Regions from separate parts of the Homo sapiens genome. Here all the other regions are linked to region 1. Evidence: promoter capture Hi-C in human tissues and cell types (Jung and others, 2019). All regions are on one chromosome and are shown on one strand. The core of a region is centred on a gene start or on the middle of the fragment in contact, and the rest is flanking DNA. Distances in the headings are between cores, read along the strand shown. Region 1 holds the start of LRRTM1 (leucine rich repeat transmembrane neuronal 1). Region 2 overlaps CTNNA2 (catenin alpha 2). Region 3 overlaps CTNNA2 (catenin alpha 2).

Region 1 (4,057 bases), core at 1,002-3,501:
AGGAAGGAGAAGATGAGGGCCATGGTGCCCGTGACCACCTTGTGGATCTGCACGGCGTTCTCGGCGTGCTCGCCGCCTGGAAGAGCCACGGTGGCAGGCTCGAATGTGCCGTCGTGCTGCCCCTCCCCGCCGTCCGCGAGCGTGGTGGCCGAGCTGGCAGGGGGCCCCAGATCACTGCGGTTGGTGACGGCCGAGAGCAGGTGGCCGCTGGTGGGCTCGGCCCCATCCTCGCACAGGTGGAAGGCGTACACGGCGTCCAGGACGTCCTCGCCCTGTGCGTACTCCGGGCTGGCGCACTGCAAGTTGCCATCGTAGCGCCCCTGGAAGTTGTTGAGCCACGAGGCTAGGGCACACACGTTGCGCCCGCAATCCCACAGGTTCCCGGCCAGGGTGATGCTTGTCAGGGACTTCCAAGAGTTGAGGATCCGGGGCTCGATGTAGGTGAGGCGGTTGGAGTCCAGCTGCAGGGACTGCAGGTGCGGCACGGTCTCGAACACATGGGGCTCCATGTACTCGATCTCGTTGCCCGACAAGTCCATTTTCTCCAGGTTCCAAACCCAGTCCAGCGAGCTGACCACAATGGCCACCTTGTTCCTCCGCAGGCAGAGCGAGTGCAGGGAGATGAGGCGCGGGAAGTGGGCGAAGTTCACCTTGACCAAGTCGTTGTGCTCGAGGTGCAGCTCGGTGAGCTTAAACAAGCCGGCGAAAGAGTTGCGCGCCAGACTCTTGAGCTGATTGTATCCGATGTCGAGAAACTTGAGGCTGCGGCAGTCCTGGAAGATGCGCACGGGCACAAACTGGATGGCGTTGGCCCGCATATGCAGCGTGGTGAGCTTCCGCAGCCCGTGGAAGAGGTCGGGCGCGAGCGCCTGCAGCTTGTTGTACGAGAGGTCCACGCTGCGCAGGTTGGGCATGGGCCGGAAGGTGGTGTTGGGCAGTTGGGTGATCTGGTTGGAACTCAGCGTGAGTTCCTTAACTCGGCGCAGTTTCTGAAAGGCGTCCCCCTGCACGGAGCAGATGTGATTGTGATCCAGATAGAGCCACGTGAGCTGCATTAACCCCGTGAACTGGCCGGCGCGCAGCTCCGAGAGGCTGTTGTAGCGCAGGGACAAGCCCAGCAGGCCGGACAGGTTGTGGGGCGCCTCGGTGAGGTTGAGCGCCTCGCAGTACAGCAGCCGCCCCTCGCACCGGCACAGCTGCGGGCACCCGCTGGGGGCGGCGGGCAGCATCTGAAAGCAGGCCCCCAGCAGACACAAGACCACCCCCGAGGGCCTCCTCAGCAGCCAGTATAGACAGAGACCGAGCAGCAGGAAATCCATTAGCGAGAATCTTTCCAGAGAGACTGGAGAATGTCCATTGGAAGCGCTCGGTCAGAAATCTACATCATATTTTATTCCGAGGGAGGGGAAGCGGGGGAGGGGGAGAAAAGGGCAAAAAATCAAATAAATACATAGAAATAAAGAAGGACCCCCCTCCCCAAAAACCACACGTTCACCTCTAAGCATGCAGAAAGCTGGGCAGCATAGAAAGTTCACAGCCACGGAAAGATCAAAGAGATGGTGATTTGGTCCATGTTAGATGCTGCAGCAAAGAAAAGGGAGGAAAAAAAAAATCTTCGGGAAAGAATTTAATTAAAAAGTGTCTTACCCACCCTTTTCCAGAGAGTGACAACCTCCATTCAGCTGCTCCCTTTGTGTGCAGGCTAATTATATGCAGGGCGAGAGAAGACCCCTCTGTGTTTCCGAGGCAGCCCCGGTCCGCGGCCGGCGGATCTGGCAGGCGCACAATGTCTCACTTTGCTGCTCGGCTCGGGGCTGCAAGGGCGGCCGGCAAGGCGGGGAGGCGACTTCTAGGACCCGCAAGTTTCCCAACTACGTGCCGGAGCCCGAGCTTCGCCTTCCTGCCGCCTTCCTTTCCCTCTGCAGTTCGGACTGTGACGTTGTGGGGGGAAAAAACTCCAAACTCGGGGCTCGCGACTCCCCAGGATCTGACAGTCTGGTTAATGTCCGTCATTGGAAACGACCACTGACCGGCGCCACCTTTTACTCCGCGGAAACAGCCTGCCATTCGCGCCCCGGGCAGCTGCAGAGAGCGGGCTCACTCATGCTTTGCGGGCGGCGGGCGGCGGGCGGCGGGCGGTGGGGAGGTGCGGACGGCGGCGCGGGGAGCGGCGAGCGGCGCCCGGGCTCCTTCCCTCCACCAGGCAGTGTGCGGCGCGAGCTTGCACAGGCACCTACTGCTCACTGAGTGTCGTAAGCTGCTCACGATTGTGCGTCTTCCCCGAGCACCTCAGACATGGGCAGATTGAAAAGGGGTGGGCATAAAACCAACATTTTACCGAACCACTAAAGTAATATATGTTTTTTGATGAAACGGAAAACACTTTCAGCTTTTTTGTCCATATTTCAAAAAAAAAAAAAAAAAAAAAAAGGAGGGGGGAGGGAGGTGGAGGTAGGGGTAGCATCATCCACGACAAGATATTTCCAAGTGGGAAACTGAAATGTTCTGTGCTCTCCCCCTTGCCTTTTGGGGATATATTCTTTTCCCCTTTAAAACTGTCTACGTGTAAGAGATACGTAGGAATCTGTAGAGAAATCAACGTTTGGACCTTTGCTTTAGAAAAGCAACTTGAGAGAAGACACAGGAAGGCAATGATTTGGGGCTTGGCTAAGATTTTTGGGGTTTTTTCCCCCTCTTGCGGGTACTGGAATTCTGCAGTCAGCCAGCCCTTTTTTGAGGTGGAGAGGGGAAATGCTTTCCAAACCCACCTAGTTTGGGAAGCCATCCAAGTCCCGGTGGTGTGAGATCCAGTGTGGCAAAAAGGTATGTCTGTGTGCAGGGAGACTTGACTGAGATCCCTCCGGGGCTTCATCAGGCTCCACAGATACATATGGGGTACAGAGTGGATTAAAGAACGATTGTACTGTCTGACATGGGGAGGGCTTACCCTGACTTGTGCTGTTCATGGTGATTACTGGGCCCTGCAGTGCACCCCACTCCAAGAGAGTGTGAATGTGTAGGGACGTGATAGTTTAAGCCATAATGAAGCCTACCCGTCTCCATACACACATCCTAATTAATCTTTGAGACTGCACTAAGTTGTGCCACTTTTTCCTCTGAGTATGACGAGAAGCCTTTGCCTCATTATTTCTATTCATAATCATTTATAGATAGGAGTCCTTACAATGAGCTCTCCCCCCACCTCCCCACACACACACCTTGTGCCTACTGGTCTGTAGAGGGTCTGCCCTGGGGAGGGTCAGTTGGTCATCTGTTTAAACAAAGTCCTCCAAGATGGCTGAGAAAGCCTGCGGGAAGTGAGTGTGGGCAAGCCTTCCTTCTTGACAAAGATGCCCAGGGAGATGGTAGGGAGAGTCAAATGTGAGTCTCCAGCTCCACTGTTTGAATTCCCATCGTTTCTGCCTCTAAGGAAGTCAAAATCAGTAGGCATTATATGTAGTGGCACTTACTTTGATAGGAATGAGGGTGGATTACCAGAGCCAGGGTAGATAGACTGGACAAGTAACTGGATTGGTCCTTAGCATCTAAGCTGAAGAGGCCAACCAATGGAATCAAAGTCACCAAAGACTGGTGGTACTTTTCAGGAAAAGTCATATGAACAGGGGCATGAATCATTCCATTTTGTATTCATCTGAGCTCTGCCCTGGTCATTCATCTCTGAGATGTATCATTTAATTGGAAGGAACACAAATCTGAAATGTCCTAGACATCACATGCTGTCTTAGGAGTTAGAAGAGACATTAGAAAATCAACCCCCTTAATTTTGCACGTGACTAAACTGAGGCCAAGAGACATCATGGTTTATCCAAGGTCATACAGCTTGCAACTGGCACAGATGGTTTTTTCTTTCTTTCTTTCTTTTCTTTTCTTTTCTTTTCTTTTCTTTCTTTCTTTCTTTCTTTCTTTCTTTCTTTCTTTCTTTCTTTCTTTCTCTCTCTCTCTTTCTTTCTTTCTTAATTTGCCATTCTTGATGATTGCCTCTCTGTCACTCTTGCTGCCTACCTAACTCTGGATCAGGCATTTGCATGTTTCATCC
Region 2 (4,057 bases), core at 658-3,157, 54 kb before region 1:
GATGTGGTTTCATTTCCACAGCATGCTTTTATTTCTACAGAGAGTAACCTGGAAGGCAAGGCAAACCAAAACACAAAGAAAGGGCCAGAGTCCATGTTTGACACTGTTTTTCTCCTTTTATTTATCCTTCCTCTGACCATTATGATAGAGTTCTAAAGAACCTGCAGGAGCATTGAGACCAGCTCCTCGTCGCATAGGGCATTCAGGTGGATTACTCAACATCACTGAGCTTTTTATTGATAGTTGGAGAGCCAGGATTCAGGCCTCCTTACTTCCCTTCCAAGCTTTGTCCCCAATATTGCTTTGCGAAGGGAGCTCTTAGGGAATGAATCAAAGACACTGGCATACTGTTTACCAAGCTGTTAATAGTGTAATCATTGTAACCACTTATTGAGCATGTACTTTGTGCCTGGAACTTTCCTAAAGCTGGAAGATAGTTTTAACTTAATCTTCACCAACAAACTACTATTATTATATTAATTAAAAAAGAAGAAGACATTGAGGCACAGTGGGTTTGATAGGTGGCTCACGGTCACACAGTTGGTGCTTCGTGGATTAGGAACTCAAGTCCTGTTCTGCGGGATTCTAAGATACATATTTAAAACTATTACATTCAGCTGCCTGTCAACATCCTGGCATGTTACACATTGTTGTGATCCATATGCGTGCAATTTCATAGCCTGCTTTATTTCACTAAGCATCCCATGTTATGAAAAACCATAGCATACCTGTTATTAAAAATTCTTCATCATTATTATGTTTATAGCTTAATAATGTTACTTCTGATATCTTGCTTCATGTTATTTGTTTTTTATATTTTCTTAATGTTTTCTTTCTGTTCTTTTTCTATTATTTTCTGAAGCAATTTGCAACTTACATTTAACTGATTATGAGTCGAAAGAATTGAACCATGTTCCAGCCCCTCCTCCCATATATACAAGATGGAATCATTTGCTTCTTGTTTCTTTGCCTCGCCCCCTTTCTTAGGCCCTGTGTCTTTAACTTGAAGCTCAAAGCACTTTTTACAACTATATTATTTCTGACACGATACACACACACATTTGTAGATAGATACATGGATGGGGGGAGAGAGAGAGAGAGAGAGAGAGTGTGTGTGTGTGTGTGTGTGTGTGTGTGTCTTGAAATAAGTTGGTGACATGTTAATTTGAATGACTATAGGGAATCCACATGGAGATGCCCAGGAGATCAGCAGCTCAGGGGTCAAGTCTGGCTCACAGATATTCCTTTAGGAGTTATTAGCATATAACCAGGAATTATTAGCATATGATCCATATAAGTCTGCAGAGATGTTTCAGGGAGTAAACGCAAAGATAGAAGAGAAGCAGGCTGAGGATGGGAGTCCAGTGAAGACCAACATTTTAGAGACCTGTGATAGTGAATGAGAAAAAGGAGTCAGAGAAGTCAGAAGAAAATTAAGAGAAAGGGGCTCCATTCAATGGAGCAGAGGGTTCCAGGAAGGTGGAATGTTTTAGAGAACACACTTGGAGACTGCCCTCTGGATCTGATGCTATGGGCCAGTGGAGAGGTTAGTAAGTGTCATTCCATTGGGATAATGAGCATGCAGGACACAGGGCTGTGGCTGAGGAGAAAATAAAAGGTTCAGAGGCAGCCTGCTTCCTCTGTCTATGCTGAACTTCTAGTTCTGGCTCTAGCACTAACATTTAGTGACTTTGGGCAATACTTTATCTTCTGAACCTAAGTTTCCTAAGCTATACAATTTAGGGAAATGGATTACAGTTGTCTAAATACACTCCAATTCTAGTGCTATGCATACTATGATATTGGTAGGTATTAAACTCTCCCCAGACACCCAATACAAATACTTCAAGGGGAAAAATTAACTCTAGAGTAGTCATCAACTTATGGGCTAAATGAGTCTTAAGGGAGTCTTAAGGGAGGTCTGACCTTCTGAATATTGCTGTTGTTATCTGTACCATTTTTATACTTTAATTTTAGTCATGAGTGATTAGTGTACCCTTTTAATATCTCCTCAATGGTGTTTCTTCCCACACGTTTATGGACAATTTTAAGTAAGTCCTTAGTAGCACTGATGCAGGGCTTATTAGAACCCACATCTTGGTGTCCATCTAGTCCATGTGCCAACTACGTCCGGCACCCGGCATGTTCCTTAAACTTTACATATTGTTTTCTCCTTCTTTGAGATGCCATTTGTTAAATAATGATATTGAAAGCAATAATCAAATTGGTACCATATAGTGAGTTTGCTCAAATAATCAGTCTTGACATTCATTCTTGGTTTGGTGTTCTACCACTGCAATCACTGGCCTCTGTTCAGAGGCCCCCACCAACTTCCCAGTTTGAAAAATGGAAATCCATACGAAGAGGGGGACCTGAATGAAACCCTCTTAAACTGTGTAATGAAAAAGAAGGCTCTAGCAGGCTCCCATGGAACCAGTAAGGGTGATGACTCCCATTACATTATAAAGAAAGCCAACCAAACCAAAGATCCTAACTTTCTACAGGTGATATAACTTCTCCTAAGTCTAGCCACGATCTGATCCATTTGGCTCTGGCTCTCTTTGTTATTGGATGATTGCTCATTTCTGAATTGTTGGAAGGCTAGAAACAAAAATAGGAAAAAGAAAATGGCAGACAGCAAAACCTGCTTTGGGCCCCATATTAATCCAGTTACCTGAGAAGTACTACCTACAAATACTTAATTAAGAGTCATTGGAGCTAACGCCTTTTCCTCTTTCTGGTGGAGTCTAGCCAACTTTTACCAGAAAATTGCCTTCACATTTTGAAATCCCTGTTCTAGTAATAAACTTGTAGACAAAATGTCAGCGTTTTAAATGGCTGCAGTTTTAGTTATTTTAATTAATTTTCAGTCAAAAGAAGTTGATTTAATCCACATTATTGCTTGCAAATTGTTAAATTTTGTTTGTATAATAAACTTTTAAAACTTTCTAGAGTCAATTCCTCTGGGCAAGCTTCAGCATGTTGCTTAGACCTCTATTATAATACTTAAAACATCCTATTAGATATTACGGTAAGTTATTTACATCTCTCTGTGCCTCACTATTTTGGGAGCTCTTGAAGGAAAAGGATGAAGTCTTATTTATTTATTTACTGACCCTCTTAATATCTGGAACAGAACCTTGCACATAGTTACTGCTCAATAAATATTTTCTGGATTACTAAACTCTGAGGAGGGCTTAGAATTAAGAAGATAATTTAAATACTTACCCGTTTGGTTATATGCCTAATTCTTTATGCCTTTACTTTTCTGTTTAGTGGCACCATTTATTCCTTGCTTTGTGAGGTGTTAGCTAGAATCTTTGCTGTGTAATGCTTAGTTCTTTAGAAATTCAAAGTTCTTGGCTCAGCCTCTTGGGTTGTCCTGCCTTTTATAGATGCAGTAAATTTGATCACCATCAAGGGCTGTTAAACAACATGCAGTGATAAAAATAGTTCCCTTTGCTGACATTAGGTGTTTTCTAAAACAGCTCGATAAATTCTGGTCAACAGAAACTCTTTGTGATTTCAAAAGTCAGAAAGTGAACTGTTGACATGGATCTGGGCAGATGGAAAATAAATTGCCCTGTAGTTGCTCAGAAATATGTCCTAGGTGCTTTTTACCATGACTAGTGGTTGACTGTGCCTTCACTCGATGATGTTATAATAGAAGTTATGCAAGCTCACGAGGTTACAAGAGGACTTGTAGGCGGCGACTTGTTTGCAAGGTGATGTATCTGCAGGAGGCGTAATGGGTAGGGTGAGTGGGAGTGGTAAGTTGGTGAGTTTTGCAAAGAGCATTGATTTTAAATTTCATTTATCAGGTTCTTGGGAAGGGGGATGGTGATATTGGTAACTGCAACAAAGAAACCCTGGCTCTAAAGTAAGGCCAGGAAGCAGTAGTAGCAGATGTAGATCTGTTTTCCCCCTTACTTTCTACTCCAGTCCTTCCTGCATTTAGCAAACTTCACTCCTCAAACTATACTTTCACATCACCATTATCTTTATTGCCTATTATATTAACCCTAACCCAAAACAAGTGGAAAAGTACACCAAACTG
Region 3 (4,057 bases), core at 635-3,134, 42 kb after region 1:
ACATGGCCTCCGAAACTAAATTAGTGACCATCCCTCTCTATCTGCTCTTCCCAAGTCCATCAAAGTCAACTCTATCGTCCTAGTGCTTTATCCCAAAAGCCTTGGGGTCCCTTCATCCTCTCATATTCCATGTCTAATCTATTAGCAAACTCTGTTGCCTCTACACTGAAATAGATCTGGGCACTTACTGTTTCTCACCACTTCCGATCACTACCAAATCTCCATCATTTTGCATCAGAATTTTTACAAATACTTCCTAATGGCTCTCCCTATATTCACCTTTGCCACCCTCTTTCCAGGTCTATTCTCAACACAATAGCCAGAGTGATCCTTAGAAAATCTAACTAGAATGAATCATTTCTCTTCTCAAAACCCTCCAGTGGTTTGCCAAAATCATTACAGTGGTCTATAGCTGCCACATCTGTGGCCCCCTCCCCCTTATCTCACAGATGTTACCTTCCACTGCTCTTCTTCATTCAGCTCCTGGCACACTAGCCCCATTGCCATTCTCAGCAATGTTCCTGCTTCAGAGCCATTTACATCTGCAGGTCCTTCTGTCTGGAAGGCCCTTGCCCCACTGACATTCATGACTTGTTTCTCCAGCCCCTCAGTCTTTGCTCAAGTGGCACCTCCTCCATAAGACCTTCCTTGTCTGTACTGTTCTAAATCACAATTCCCAAGCCTTGGCTTTTATCTCTGCTTTATTTTCTCGGTATCATTTATCATCATCTGGTGTGCTATCTATTTTACTTATTTTATTAATTGTTTGCATCCTCCCAGAAGAATGTAAGCTTCTAGGAGGCAGGGATATTTGTATGTTTAGTTCACTGCTATATCATCAGTGCCCGGAAGAGTACCTGATGCATGGTAGGGACTAATTTAAAAAAAAAAAATTGAATGAATGACTCAATAGTTCTTAATCTTTTCTAGCTTACAGACTATGAACTATTTTAAAATTTGATGAAATCTATGGAAACTTTTTTTTAGAAAAAGTTATACCCACATAATTTGTACTAAAATTCTAAAGCTAATGTATCTTCTTAAATTTTTCCAAGGATGTTTTCCACACCCAAGAACTCCTGTTTAATCATACGTGGCCTAGAGGAAGAGGCAAAGTATAAAGCCAAACTCTACTATTGTCTGTTGGATGATTGCTACTGCTTAAATCATGGTGGCCTGCAGATTGAGGATAAAGGGCATAAGGAGAAAATAATTTTCCATTTTCACACAATTATTTATAAGAAAGATAAAACTGGAACTCATTTCTGATCACAATTTTTTTGAACCATTTAATTGAACTACAGGAATTCAGATCTGTTTATTTATTTTGTTTCGGGGACTTAATTTCGCTAGCATAATTTTACAAGGGGGAAAATCATGTTTGAACTCTTTTGTATTAGGCCATTCTTGCATTGCTTTAAAGAAACACCTGTGACTGTGTAATTTATAAGAAAAGAGGTTTAATTGGATCATGGTTCTGCAGGCTGTACAGGAAGCATGGCTCTGGCCTCTGCTTCTGGGAAGGCCCCAGGAAGCTTTTACTCATGGTAGAAGGTGAAGTGGGAGCAGGCAAGAGTAAAAGAGAGAGAGTGCCCGGGGAGAGGTGCCACACACTTTTAAATGACCAGATCTTGTGTGAACTCAGAGATCTCACTTATCACCATGGGGATGGCACAAGCCATTCATGAGGGACCTGCCTTCATGATCCGAACACCTTCCACCAGGTCCACCCTCCAACATTGGGGATTACAATTCAACATGAAATTGGGGTGGGGACAAATATCCAAACTGTATCACCTTTGTAGCTTTCTGCTTATACTCCTCAAGTTCTTCCATTTTCCTTTCTCTCAGCATCGGAGTGCCTGATTTTATTGATAAGGGGTTCAGTTTGATCATGATGCATTTCCAAAGCTCCCTTTCTCTCTTCCCAAGGTATTTATCTAAATTTCACAAACCTTAAAAAGGAAATGCCTACAAGATCATGTTTGAAAGAGGTTTATGTAAATGTCCAGGAATGAAATTATTTTAATTTCTGCCTTTCCAATTTAAAATTCTGTATTCATCTCCTAGGTAGGTACCCCCATGTGTTGAATAAAATGGCACATTTGTTGCTGAGAAGTTCTAAGACAGCAGAATTTTGCCCTCAGCACTTCTTAAGGAAAATGGTCTCTGTGAATTAAGGATTTATGGGTGACCATGCTTCCGCTAGAAAGGTTTGAAGATCTGGACTTACATGCTGGGATCCTGTCTTGATTAAAGGCTGCAGAGAAGCTGATACAGTAAATAGTCTTTGCTATCTGTGGACTCATATTTCCTGCTAGAGATAAACCAAGCTTTGTGCTATATAGCAATCAGCGAGCACCGCAGTGGCAGATTCAGCGCTCTGCCCCTACTAGGCTGACACCTTCAATTGGAAATGGCCTCAAAATCATGAATGTTCACTTCGGAGTTACAGGACGTGGGGATGAGTTGAATGTATTCCTCCATGTGAACACTTGGTCACTTTCCCCACATTACACTGTAAAACCAATTTTTGTGGTTTTATTTCTCTGAGTCCTCATTAATGCCATTTAACAGGAAATTCAGCTAAAGCCCCAAGACAAGTGTAGAGATTTCGAAGAAAACTTGCTTTGGACTGCTTTAGCAGAGTGCCTGTGTATTATATATGTGCCCACGAATGTCATCACCAGGGGAGAGGAGCAGTCACATGAACGATCCAACCTAATTCATTTATATTTGATTTTGAAATGCACAGCGCTCCTTAGACTCTCAGTAACTTTTCATGGAGGTGGGAGGGGTAATAGTAAGAGGAGCATGTGTTCTTTGAGCTCACATTGCATAATGGAAATAAGCAACAAACTGTATCTGACATTCCATGTGGATACTTAGCTGTTGACACTGGATTTAGGGTTGCTACTCAAAGTGTAGTTCCGGAGCAGTAGCATCAGAATACCCTAGAAGCTTTTTGGAAGGCAGTTTCTGGTGTCCACACCTCAGGATCTTTATTTTAACAAGATCCCCAGCTGATTCATTTGCACATTATCTTTTCCTTTTTCTTTTCTTTTCTTTTTTTTTTTCCAGAAGGGTTGTTTAAAGCCCTGTTTCCCAAACATGGCTGTGCATTGGGAGCACCTTGGGGGGAGTTTTTAAAATACTGATTGACACCTGGGTCCTGCAGTCAGAGTGCCCGATTTTATTGGTATGGGATTCAGTTCGATCATGATGGGTTTCCAAAGCTCCCCAGGTGGTTGTAAGGTACAACAGAGTTTGAGAGCCTCTAGTTCAGAGCAGAACCAGAATGCATCTCAGGCACATGTGAATGGTGAAGAGTTGACAATTTCTGAAACAGACTTTCAATTTGTGACCTGGCATTCTACCAGCCACAAATTTTTATTTGTGTTTTATCCACTCATATGTTAGCTGTCTTCTTAATCACCAGAGACAAGTAAGTTATCTATTTAGTTTACTGCTTTTTCTATTTTATCTGCTTATTTGAAAATTGATGGATAGCTTTGGTTTATATGGTTATTCTAGACCAGTCAAAAGATTTGCTTAATTGAATTTCATTTCCGAATATGTTTTCAGAGGGAAGGTTATGGTCTAAAGAATGTCATTTAAAGGTCTTACCAATGCTATGCAGTAGTTATTTCTCTTAAAGCAGCAAGAGCTGAGATTTCAAAAAGTTAAATAACTGCCTAAATTGCACAGCCGGTCATTGGAAAAGCCAGAGGTTGAACTTGGCATTTGAAAAGTCTTTATCTGATTCCTAAAGCCCGTACTTTTCTGATCCTCCATGCTGTTTCTGGAAAAACGTAGCTGTGTATGATTAACAGCAACTTTAAAAAGAGCATTTCTGGTTTATTTTTGTGTAGCCTTATGCAGTGTACACATAGACATGTGTAGCTTTTTGAAATTTTGTGTAAGACATTCCACCAACCATCACTGAGTAAACGTAGTATATGCCCTTAGGTTCTGATTTAAATAACAACAAACAAGCAGAGAAGTTAGGGGAATTGAAGGTGACTGAGGAGCACAAGGTATTGAGATGTTTGTTAGG

Evidence for each region. The method cuts DNA at HindIII sites, captures the fragments that hold promoters and counts their contacts. A contact is called where the count stands out against the background at its distance.
Region 2: a contact is called between a fragment that was not itself captured here and the fragment with the promoter of LRRTM1 in region 1, in 2 of the 25 tissues and cell types used here (spleen and thymus).
Region 3: a contact is called between a fragment that was not itself captured here and the fragment with the promoter of LRRTM1 in region 1, in 2 of the 25 tissues and cell types used here (ovary and spleen).

What each region holds. Positions count from the first base shown.
Region 1 is chr2:80,302,501-80,306,557 of GRCh38, forward strand. LRRTM1 (leucine rich repeat transmembrane neuronal 1) reads right to left here and starts at 2,252. Exons shown (of 2, transcript NM_178839.5): 1 at 1,652-2,252; 2 at 1-1,378. The coding sequence starts at 1,319. All of the region lies in intron 7 of CTNNA2 (catenin alpha 2), which reads left to right. RefSeq lists an enhancer at 1,069-1,694. The HindIII fragment of the contact is 15,461 bases long and covers 1-4,057 here.
Region 2 is chr2:80,249,097-80,253,153 of GRCh38, forward strand. The region is part of intron 7 of CTNNA2 (catenin alpha 2); the gene reads left to right. Among named protein-coding and RNA genes, the nearest start is that of LRRTM1, 54 kb to the right of the region's middle. The HindIII fragment of the contact is 4,389 bases long and covers 1-4,057 here.
Region 3 is chr2:80,344,778-80,348,834 of GRCh38, forward strand. All of the region lies in intron 7 of CTNNA2 (catenin alpha 2), which reads left to right. The region is part of intron 2 of LOC105374824 (a long non-coding RNA gene); the gene reads right to left. Among named protein-coding and RNA genes, the nearest start is that of LRRTM1, 42 kb to the left of the region's middle. The HindIII fragment of the contact is 3,351 bases long and covers 210-3,560 here.